Linked DNA regions of Homo sapiens: region 1 is linked to region 2. The links are contacts of gene promoters, found by promoter capture Hi-C in human tissues and cell types (Jung and others, 2019). All regions are on one chromosome and are shown on one strand. The core of a region is centred on a gene start or on the middle of the fragment in contact, and the rest is flanking DNA. Distances in the headings are between cores, read along the strand shown. Region 1 has its middle 75 kb from the start of CARMIL1. Region 2 holds the start of SCGN (secretagogin, EF-hand calcium binding protein).

Evidence for each region. The method cuts DNA at HindIII sites, captures the fragments that hold promoters and counts their contacts. A contact is called where the count stands out against the background at its distance.
Region 1: a fragment that was not itself captured here is called in contact with the fragment with the promoter of SCGN in region 2 in 1 of the 25 tissues and cell types used here (spleen).

What each region holds. Positions count from the first base shown.
Region 1 is chr6:25,200,851-25,207,345 of GRCh38, reverse strand. No RefSeq gene overlaps it. Among named protein-coding and RNA genes, the nearest start is that of CARMIL1, 75 kb to the left of the region's middle. The HindIII fragment of the contact is 3,534 bases long and covers 1-3,098 here.
Region 2 is chr6:25,650,007-25,655,862 of GRCh38, reverse strand. SCGN (secretagogin, EF-hand calcium binding protein) reads right to left here and starts at 3,648. Exons shown (of 11, transcript NM_006998.4): 1 at 3,378-3,648; 2 at 2,411-2,481. The coding sequence starts at 3,459. The HindIII fragment of the contact is 8,573 bases long and covers 1,269-5,856 here.

The DNA of each region.
Region 1 (6,495 bases), core at 82-2,581, 450 kb after region 2:
AAAAAACTCCTGCAGTTAGCATGGTGTCTGCCCAAACAGCCACCCAATTTTGGGCTTGAAACCCAGTGCCCTGGTGGTGTAGGCACACGAGGGAGCCTCCTGATCTGTGGGTTGCAAAAACCATGGGAAAAGTGCACTACCCAGTCTTGGTAGCACGGTCCCTCACGGCTTCCCTTGGCTTCGGGAGGGAGGTCCCCTGGCTTCTGGCACTTTCCGGGTGAAGTGACACTTCAGCTTGCTTCTGCTTGCTGTCTGTGGGTTGCACCCAATACCTAACCAGTCCCAGTGAAATGAACTGGGTCCCTCAGTTGGAAATGCACCTACCTTCTGCATTGGTCTCACTGGGAGCTGCAGACTGGAGTTATTTCTATTTGGCTATCTTGGCCCCTCCCTAAACACATCTTTTTAAATATGCCATCCAATGTGTTGTCAAAAAATGATTAATTAAAACATGGAATCAAAAATGTACACATTTCTAGGCTTTCAGGGGGGTCCTGACATCTTAGCTGTGGATCTCCCAATACCTGCAGGTCACAGGGCCACAGAAGCTGCACCTCTAGGAGCAGAGGACACAGAGCAGTGAAGAGGAGACCTGGAGCTCTGGCTGCAGTGAGAGACCCAGTTTGCAAAATTTTTATTGCTGCTTTTGTAATTTTGTTGCTTTTCTTTTATTACCTTTCATATATTATATATATATATAAAATATATTATATATATATAATATAAAAAATATATATTATATATAATATAAAATATATATATTATATATATATAAAATATATATTATATATATTATATATATAAAATATATATTATATATATTATATATAAAATATATATATTATATATATATATAAAATATATATATTTTATATATATATAAAATATATATATATTATATTATATATATAAACCTCTCTCATGTATATGTGTGTGTGTGTGTGTGTGTGTGTGCACGCGTGCATGAGTCTTTTTTTATGCTGGTACCACACTGTCTTGCTATGTTGCCCAGCTGATCTCAAGCTGATCTTCTTGTCTCAGTGCCCTGAGTAGCTGGGATTACAAGTGGCTGTAATCACCCGGCTGATCTTTCTTTTATATTAGTCCATGTATTTATTTTTGCTGAAGATCTTCATATCTTCCTATGGGTATGAGTTACTGTAAGTGTCCTTGCATTTCTACCTGAAGGACTACCATTAACATTTTTTATAAGGCAGGTCTAGTGGTAATGAATTTCCTGGGTTTCTGGTTATCTGTGAATGTCTTAACTTTTCCATCATTTTGAAAGACTGTTTTGCCAGATGCAGAATTCTCAGCTGACATTTTCTTTCAGCACTTTATCCCACTGCATTTTGTCCTCCAAAGTATATGCTGAAGAATTGATTGATAGTATTTTTGAAGATTGCTTGTATGTGATGAGTTGCTTCTCTCTTCTCTCAATTCTGTCTTTAACAGTTTGATTATAATATGTTTTGGAGTGGACCACTTTGGAAGCTGAGTTTCTTGGATTTGTATATTAATGTCTTTCATTGTATTTGGGATTTTTTTTAGTCATTATTTCTGCATATAATCTCACTATCTCTTTCTTCTCCTTGGATTCTCATAATGCATATATTAATCTGCTTCATAAGTCCCTTCATCTCTGTTCACTTTTATTTTAGATTTGAAAATTTTGAATGTACTATCTTCCACTGATTTTTTTTTCCTTCTGCCTGTTCACATCTGCTTTGATTTCTCTTGAATAAATGCCTAGGAGTGAAATTGCCGGGTTATGGTTTCAGTATATGTTTAATTTTATAAGAAACTGCCAGACATTTTTGGAAAGTGGCTATGTATTTTACACTTTTATCCATAATGCATCAGAGTTGCTATTGATCTATATTTTTGCCAGCATTTGGTGTTAAAGTCTTCAATTTTAACCATTCTGATGGGTGTGTAATAGTACCTTATTGTAGTTTAAATTTGTGGGTTTTTTGGGCTCTGATAATTAATCTCTGACGGCTAATGATATTGAATACTTTTTCATGTGTTTATTTGCCATTAGTAGATTTTCATTTGTAAAATATCTGTTCAAATATATTGCCCCTTATTTAATTGAGTGGTTTGAACCTTTTAAAGAAACGGAGTTGTGGGAGTTCCTTATCTATTCCAATTATTAGTCCTATGTCACACTTTAGTTTTGAGAATATTTTCTCTTGGTCTGGAGTTTATCTATTTTTTTTTAGTGGTGTATTTTGATTAGGAGCAGCTTTTAATTTGGATAAAGTCTAATTTATCAATTTTTTGATGGTTATGGCCTTCTTTGTCCTTTCCAAGAAACTTTTGCCTACTCCCAAGCCATAAATACATTCTTCCAGAAGTTTCATAGTTTTATTCTTTGTTTAGACCTGTGATCCATTTTGAGTTGACTTTTGTGCAGGTGTGGGGTAAAGGTCAAGGTTCATTTGTTTTCCCATTTGGATTTTCAGTTGTTTCAGTACCATTTGATGAAAAGACTTCTTTTTGCATAAGATTGCTTTGATACTTTTGTTGTTGAAAATTAGTGGACCATATAAATATGAATCTACTTCTAAGCTCTGTTCTATTTATCTACTTGTCTGTTTTTTATGCTGGTACCACACTGTCTTGATTACCATACTTTATAGTAAATCATAGAGATAGATAGTACCAGCCCTTCAAGTTTGTTCTTCTTTTACAAGATGTATTTGGCTATTTTGGGTCCTTTTCATTTATGTGTAAATTTTAGAATCAGCTTGTCAATTTCTTTGAAAGCGCCTTTCAGGATTATGATTTGGGTTGCCATTGAATCTACAGGTAAATTTGAGGAGAATTGACATCTTAACAACATTAAGCCTTCCATCTATGAACAGATGCATTTCTCCATTTACTTCAGTTTTCTTCATTGTCCTTCAGCGATGTTTACAGTTTTCAATGTAGAGGTCTTGCACATCCTTTGTTAAATTTATTTTTAAACATCTAATTGTTTGATATTGAAAATAAAATTTATTTCAAATCATTTGCTTCTAGTATATAAAAACATAATTGCTTTTTATACTAACCTTGCATCTTGCAGCTTTGCGAAACTCATTTATTCTAATAGTTGTTTTGCTGATTACTTGGAATTTTCTACAATGTTGATTAGAAGTGTTGAGAATAGACATCTTTGCTTTTTCTTTTTATCTTAGGGGAAAACATTTATTCCACCACTTCATATGATGTTAAATATAAGTATTTTGTAAATGTTCTTTATCAGATTGAGAAAGTTCCTTCCAATTCTAAACTTACTGAGACTTTTATAAAAATTCACGATAAAATAATAATGAATTTTGCCAAACGGCCTTTTCTGTACCTACTAAAATGATTTTTATTATCTCCTTTATTCTGTTAATATAGTGAATTTCATTTTTTTCAAACAATAAACTAAACTTGCTTCTCTAGGAAAATCTGCAACTGCTCTCAATGTATTCTTTTTAACATATTGCTAGGCTTGACTTGTTAATATATTAAGACTTTTTTCACCTATTTTTCTAGCAGTTTTGTTTTAGAATCCAAAAGCAATATATACTTACAGCAGGGGGGACCTTCAACCAATTTAAAAGTGAATCAATTAAATATAAAAGTTACTTCTTTCTATCCCATCCATCCTCTTAAAGAAATAATCACAATGAACAATTTGATGTGTATTCCTCTCACTTTTTAAATACATGCACAAATATATACAGTTTAAATTCTGCTTTTTCACATAACACTTCCTCATAACATTAAATATTCTCCAAAATATGTATTTTTAATGTATTTAACTATTTTCCTATTGTTGGACATATAGGTCGCATATATTTATTCATTGAGACAGGGTCTCACTGTGTCACTCAGGCTGGAGTGCAATGGTGCGATTATGGTTCACTGCAGCCTTGAACTCCTGGGCTCAAGTAATCCTCCCACCTTAGGCTCCCCAGCAGCTGGGACCACAGGCACATGCCACCACATCTAGCTAATTTTTTGACTTTTTTGTAGAGATGGGGGTCTCACTTTGTTGCCCAGGTTGCTTTCAAACTCCTGGGCTCAAGAGATCCTCCCGCCTTGGCCTCCCAAAGTGTTGGGATTACAGGTGTGAGCCATGGTGCCTGGCCATATTACTTTATTATGGAATGAAACAAAATGTTAAAGATGATGTATGCTGAGAGTACAATGGAGTTACATACCAGGTGCTGAAAAGACTTCTCAAAGTAGATGGCTGTGCTTGAGCTGATTTCTGATAGTTGACAGAGTGCTGAGTTGTTTCATTAAGAATGGAAGACAGGGAGGGAAGGAAGACAAAGTAGGAAAAGCAGAAGGAAGACAGAAATAAAGAAGGGGGAAAAGGACATGAGAAAAAAGATGAAGAAAAAAAATCATTAGTATCATGCTTAGTAGCTGCTCGACATATACAGTGTTCTGAACCACCAGCCCATTTCTCCATCCCATCTTTAAAAGAAAGATCCTTCCAATGTAGTTCACCCTTTCCTTGCAAAATGTTTTTTGTTATTTGAATTTTACTATTTTTAGCTGGTGAAAAGCCAAACAACTCATGGAAAACTTTCCCATGAGGTAATAGGAACCACTGAGCAACATTCCAAATGTCTTATTTCAAGTGATTACACATAAGATTTGTTTTTCTTCTATGCTTTTCTGTTGGATAATGAGGAATATATACAGATGTTTATTTTGTAATGTCTCCAACTCCTCTTGTAGATCCTATCATAGTGTATCCTCTAAAATCTAAACATACTTGGCAGGTGATTTTTCCTCTTTTCACCTCCCTCCTTTGAATGGCCAACAACAGAATATTTCCACTTCCTAAGTTTGGCTCTTTTACTTTTTTCTTTCTTTCTTTCTTTTTTTTTTTTTTTTTTTATTTTTTTTTTGAGACTGGGTGTCACTCTGTTGCCCAGACTGGAGTGCAGTGGCGCAATCTCGGCTCACTGCAACCTCTGCCTCCGGGGTTCAAGTGATTCTCCTGCCTCAGCCTCCTGAGTAGCTGGGATTACAGGCGCACGCCACCATGCCTGGCTAATATATATATATCTATTTTTTTTTAAGTAGAGACGGGGTTTCACCTTGTTGGCCAGGCTGCTCTCGAACTCCTGACCTCAAGTGATCCACCCACCTCGGCCTCCCAAACTGCTGGGATTACAGGTGTGAACCACCATGCCTGGCCCTTTATTTATTTATTTATTTTTTTAATGAGACAGGGTCACACTCCATCACCCAGGCTGGAGTGCCGTGGTGTGCTCATGGCTCATTTCAGCCTTGACCTCCTGGGCTCAAGTGATCCTCCCACCTCAGCCTCCTGAGTAGCTGGGAATGCAGGTGCACACCACCATTCCCAGCTAATTTTTGTATTTTTTGTAGAGACAGCCATTTGCCATGTTGCCCAGGCTAGTCTCAAACTCCTGGATTCAAGAGATTCACCCACTTCAGCCTCCCAAAGTGCTGGGATTACAGGCATGAAGTTTGGCTCTTTTAAATCTACCTGAATTCTGCTTCTCTAGTATCCCACTGTCTTCCTACTGAATACTATTTAAGAGTAAAATATATTGGAGATTCTCATGATTTCCTGCTAGTCTTCTAGCATCATTGATTTGTGCAAAAGGAAATTGCTTCCTAGACTGTTCTAGCTATTGTAGTTCCACATAGTCTTTTCAGGTGGAACTAGTTCTTGCTCTACTTTACTTAAGGTATATTTTCTTTCTGTGCACCATTTTTCTTTTCTTTTTTTTTTTTTGACAGAGTCTTGCCATCTCAAAAGTGAGATGGAGTGCAGTGGTGCCATCTCAGCTCACAGCAGCCTCTGCCTCCTAGGCTCAAGCTATCCTCCCACCTCAGCCTCCCAAGTAGCTGGGATTACTAGTAGCATAGGCCACCATGCCCAGCTTATTTTCATATTGTTAGTAGAGAGGGGGTTTTGCCATGTTGGCTGGCCTGGTCCCAAACTCCTGGCTTCAAGTGATCCACCTGCCTCAGCCTCCCAAAGTGCTGGGATTACAGCATGAGCAACTGCACCCAGCTCTGTGCATAATTTTTCTTATCTGAAACATGGGTGTAAATTTACCATGCTGCTTTCTGAAGGGAGGCTGTGATAATCAAATGGAATGTGTGTACAACTTGCTTAAATGGTCAAAAGTGGTTGATGTCATATTCATTATTAATATATATTAATAATGATAGCTGCCATTTAGTTTAGTCTTTGATATGTACTAGGCCCTGAGGTAGGTCCTTTATTGACATTATCTCACTTTAATTCTCAAAACAATTCTATTATTCACATTTTAGAGATGAGGAATTAAAGCAATTTACCTAACAGCATTCAGAGACAGAATTCAGGTCTTTCTGAATCCATAGCCTAAGCTTTTAAACATTATATTGAATGCCTGTCAAGAATATTTATTGAATGTACGGTATGAAATGTAATAATGAGGTTACCTGAATAGTCACTAAATAACAGCAATCTATGAT
Region 2 (5,856 bases), core at 2,399-4,898:
ATTGCCACAGCTCAGTGGGATTGGCCTAATTATATCAGAATCCCCTCTCCAAAAGTCACTGTTCCTAGAGGAAAAAAGGGTAAAAAAACATGCTAACTGACTTTGAGTGCTTTTAAAATGAAAGATCTTTGGCAGACCCCAAATGTATTTAAATACCTACAGGATGAGACCTAGGGGTCTGCATTTTAACAAAAAAATATAATTCTCAGGCATACTGAAATTTGATTTGCACTAGGTTAAGGATTATGAGAACTTCCAACCCCCGTTCCAGCCTCAGAGATATTTGCACTGAATGCAGTTGCGCAGGACACCAGTGAGTCCTTTGCTGTCCTCTTTCCTCGAGGATTATGCTTGCCCCTGTGTAAGAGCATTAGTCCATGGACCAGGTCTGAGATAGGGGCAATGATAAAAACAGCCAAGCTGCAAGAGATGACATCCCTCTTTTCTCTCACAATGGCAACAATGCTTCTAAGGTTAGCCAAAATCTCAGATGAAGATATCTCACAGCATCCTCATCTTAGTGCAGACCCCAACTCGATGAATGAATATTAGATACTCCAGCTTCAACAGTGACAGCAATTTTTCTCCTCCCTTTTATAAATGACTAGAACAAGGAGCCCTCTGAAAAGGTGAGAAGTTCCAGGTCCCTGAGGACAGATTTTTAGGAGCTGGCCATCCCATTTATTCCAAGATTTTGAATGGTTTTAACTTTGTCTTTTTGCTTTCCTCAAATACCCATGTCCATGATAGATAAGATGGGTTTCTGGAACACGATGAACCTTACATTTACAGATATAAGTAGAAGCCCTGTGGGCAAGGCTGGTGGGCTTCACCATGGGCTGCTAGCACGTGAAAGTGGCTGGCTAGATTGAAGCAGAAGCCTCACTTGGGGGAGGCTTCCTCAGCTCTACCTGTAGCTTGTGTAGGTACAAGAATGAAGGATAAAGAGGAGTGTGCGCAAGTGGTCTGACCAGAGGAAAGAAGGGACTTGTGTCTCTATCCTTCTCGTCTGCTGATCCTTTCACTTCACAGGCTGCACAGGGTAAGGGGTGGAGTGCAGGCAGACAAAGAGCAATAAAAGGTACAGAAAAAGGGAGATAAGAGACAAAGAAAAGGGTGAAGGAGAAAATGTGGAGAAAAGAAATGAAGGTCAAAAAGAGAGATGGGAAAGAAAGAAGAAAGGAGAAATAAAAGACATGGGGAGAGGAAAGACCAAAAGAGCTTTGAGAAGCAGAGAGACTGGAAAAAGAATGGGAAAACACAGAGACAGAGAGATGGAGAAACAAATGAGAAACAGAGACAAGAAAGATGGGCAACAGAGAGGTCAGAGAGAAAGGCAAGAAACAGTAGGAGATGAGAGCCATGAAACACAGAGATAAGAAACAGAAGTGAGCAGAAAAATGACAGAGATAGACATAAAAAAGAGAGACAGACAGAATATGAGAGGCAGACAGAAGTAGAGGGGGACCAAGAGATCTGTGTGGCTGAAGAAGGCGGAAGCCAGCCCTTTTGTTTCTGAACCAGCTTCCCCTGCCCCCCACATACCCTCCCCATGTTCTCAACAGTGGTGAAGAGCTCCTTGTTCCCTCACTGAGCTCTCACATGAGAATGTGATGCACTTCTATTCTTCAGATAAACAGCTGAATGATAAGGACAAACTATCTCCATCATTCATTTAAATTCAATTGTCCCTAGAGCGTCTCCTTCTACTATGAATGCCCTACTGGAGCTTTCATCAGATCGAGCCCATCCCCAGGCTGTCCTCCGCTCATGTGTTTCTGTGTAAAATTTTTCTCTGCTTTGATAGAGAGACTTTCAAGAGTTCATTTACATCTCCCAAGGACATATTTACCATCAGATGGACACTAGATAGATTGGCTTCCATTTGTATCTGGGCTCTGAGTATGCTGGTTGTTTTCTGGTTTGTCATTCCCTGAAAAATCTGTAACCTCTTCTAATAAAATGAATAATGGATAAATGATTTTAAATGGTTTGTGGTTTGCTATCAGAGGAGTATCATACATATTAAACACCCAAAATCTTAATGTGCTTAACATCTTTTCCAGCTTTTTGAACAAAGTGGGCTACTTTACCCCCAGGTATAAATCAATTAGCAGAGACATAACCAAGGAGACGTTCAAGACCAAGTTAACTGAGTCTACAGTTAGGATCTCTGAGTGGATGACAGATGTTACACTGAAAGTCAGTAACCAGCATGTCTAATGCTACAGTTGCACCTTTTATAAAAACTGCCTAAATCCCTCTATGTTGCTAGGAGAGGGGGAGAAATTACATACATGCAAGGAAGAAAGGAGGTGAGTTGGAATTAATAGGTACCAATCAATATAAGACTTGGATGTGCGTATCTTACTAAGAGGCATAAATTAAGGCTTAGTGTGCAAGTACTTACATCAGTACCCAGTTTCATCAACATGTGGAGAAAGAAAGCATCGAGTTCCTTCTCTTCTATGTAACCTTTTTCTAAATGTGAGAAAATAAACATAAATAATACTAACATATAAAAAACACATGACAGTATTTATCTAAATATGTTTTTAATCTCACAATTCATAAAGCTTCCCTCAACACTATTTTTTGTTATTCCAATAACAAAGTGCCAACACCTACCTCTAGAATACATGGGTTTGAACAGTAAACACTGTTCCAGAATACGTGCTTTATGCTAGGGTTTATATTAGTGCTTGGAAAAGGAAGGCTATTAAGTACATGAATTTTAATCAATGAATAAACGTGAACTTTCCAATAAAATTTAACCCCAAAATTTCTGAAGCTTGGAGAAACTTAACAGGTGTAAGTATTGAATCCCAGTTTGCAGAGTTAAAACACACCTTTTAGATATTTTATTTCTTTATTAATAAAAACAAATATTAAGTAGTTCCATTTTATTTTCAAGTAGTTTTTTGGTGGAGGAGTCGTTTTGAAAGCTGATAAAATTTATTCTCATTTTGAGAGAGTGAGGGGTGTACAGCAAAGTCACTGCGTAAAAGTGAGCCCATTTAGGGAAGGATGACTTCAAATAGCTGAGTCTCAGCCCACAAGCCTTGAACATATACAATGATATTAGTCATTGTATATACAATATATATGTATGTCTACCATATATATGGCGCGCTCGCACACAAAGAGAGATTGGAAAGGGGAAAGTGGAAATTCACCACCCAGAATTTTAACAAGGTATATAGATGTGTATCACCAGTATGCCAAACGTCTGTTAATGATACTGTATTAGGTACACTGCATTAACAACCCAGGTCGATAACTTTTCCTACAGTAAAGGGGAAACTCCAGGTCCTTTCAGCGGGCTGAGCTTGGAGCCACGTCTACACCTGAGTGTGCAAGTGGCTTGTTCTACTCACCATCCGCATCAAAGCGCTGCCAGACCTGCCAGAAGCCAGCGGCGTCCAAGCGCCCCAGAGTCGGTTCCCGGGAGCTGTCCATGGTGTTGACGACGAAGACCAGGCACCGGCGCGGAAGGACCTAGACAACTTTGGGAAGGACTCCTTCACCGTATTTCTTGACTTGCTCTCCTGCTTCTTTCGCTATCTGATTAGCTTTGAGTAACTGTTGCTGGGGAGGACGCGAGCGCTGCTGGCCGTGGCGTCGCTGAGCCGTCCCTCAGCCCTCAGCAAAACCAGCGGCTGGAAGCCCGCCCCGCTCCTGGCGCGCCTGTCCCCGCCCCGCCCTGCGCGCTGTCCTGGCAGATCCTGTCTGTCTCTGCGCTTTGGGGAATTCAGGAAGAAAGAAACTGTCTCCAGGCGTCCACGGCTCACTGCTTTTGCCCTTTAACTTGCTTCTCAGACTCGGAGAAGACATCCCTCTTACGTTTGACTCACTTTCCAAACTTGTGTCTCAAGGGGTTTTCTAGGGAGAGCTGCCTCATTTAAAGGGTTGCAAGAAGTGTCAGTGTTAGGGTCCTTTGGACTTGAGGATTTAGAAATGTAGTGTGTGGAGAGGGGAGGCGAGAAGGGATGGTGATGGTGGTAAGTGGTTCCCTTTAAGGAAGAAGTCAACAGCAATTATTGAGTCCTGATTGTATAGGACATACACATTGCTGTACCAAAATGCACTATAAGGACTTGCAACTAAACAGGGATACTGCAAGTCACTGTGATTTAAAGTAGCATCATTAGGATGCTGAGGAAAATATAAACTAAGCCGTACTCTGCCAGGAAAAGAGAGTCTGGGGGAGATGTGTCTGCCTGCAGGGTACTTAGGTAGAAGGCTTAGATGATTGTGTTTGGCTCCTAAGAGCCACATTAAGACCAAAGGATAAAAATCAGTTGGAGGAACACAGAGCTTTCTAACAATCAGGACTGTTCAAAATTGGGCAAGGCTTTGTGGAAACGTGTACAAACTACACTGATACCTTTTGACTATATATTTAGAAATTTTCGTTGGATAATCTATAGAAAGTGCTTGGATATTAGATAAGAAAGTTGAACCAGATGTAACTTTTCTTTATGGCACCCTGACTCTGGTTTTAGCATTCAGATTTATTTATAAAAAGCATGCATGTATAAGTCATCTAAACCAGAGTAGTGAAAAGAACATGACACTCAAGGTCAGATAGTCCTGGGTCAGGATCTGAGTTCCATTATTTACCAGCTTTGTGAACTGCACCATTAGTTCTCATCTCCCTAAGCCTCAATTTTCTTATCTATAAAATGAGGATTAAAACATCTGTTTTGGAGGGTTGCTGTGAGGATCAGAACCATACATAGTAATGCACAATGAATTATATCTGCTATGGTGTTGTAGCTGATGAGGGATGACTCTGTTAGAGAAAACAAGTAAAGTCTAAGAGATTGTCATAGCCAAGAGGAACCTAATGAAAAATGACAAAGAAATGTAATGTTTTATCCTGGGTGTGATGCCGGAACAGAAAAAGGCCATTAGGTAAAAATTAAGAAAATTTTAATAAACACGGACTTTAGTTAATAATAATGAAAAAAATGGTTCAGAAGAAAACAGTTCTGGGTTCAGGGCCCAGCTTTGCCTCTTACTAGTTGTGTGTGATATTGGGCAAGTTACTCAAAAGAAGCCTCACTTTCTTTGTAAAATGGGAATAATAGTAGTATTTACCCCGTGTTATTATCATAAAGGTCAAATTAAAAAATCATATAAACCTATTGTCACAGTATATACAGTAACATTCAGTGTAAGTTAGCTACTAAAATGATGAATCTTCCATACATACATACATATTTGGAAGACGGTGAAGTAAACTTCAGGATTTTTGAGGAGTGTGGCTTAGCCTAAAGGAAGAAAAGCAGTATTATCACCGATTAAGCAAGTGCTGGTTACAAAAATTGGAGAAAAGCATATGTAGCATAGGAGGGTGTAAGGGTTCAGTATCTGTAATTATCATCTGTGACTTTAGGAAATTAGTGGATACAATGTCAAGCACCAGTTAGGAAAAGTAATTGGTATGAACCCACCAGGGCTGATCTTGTTTTCTGATAAATAGTGGAAAAAGATAAAACAAGGCAGATTTCAGAAGTAATAATCAAGATCTAATGTGGAGGGATGGTTAAATAAATGATAGTAAATATCTATGATGGGCTTTGCTGCATACACAGAAATCTTGATTTTGAAGCTTGATGATCCAGAAAACTCAAAACATAAGGTTAAGATTAAAAAGCAAGTTACAAAAGTGTACATATATGATGACTCAATTCTGTAAAATAAAATACATGTTTCTACACATAGAAAACATGGAAGATATACATTAATGACATTAATGATATGTTTCTCTGGAGTGGGGAAGAGGGAGGCTCACAGATGATTTCAATTTTGCTATTTGTAATTCTTTTGTCTTAAAACTTTGTGCAGTAA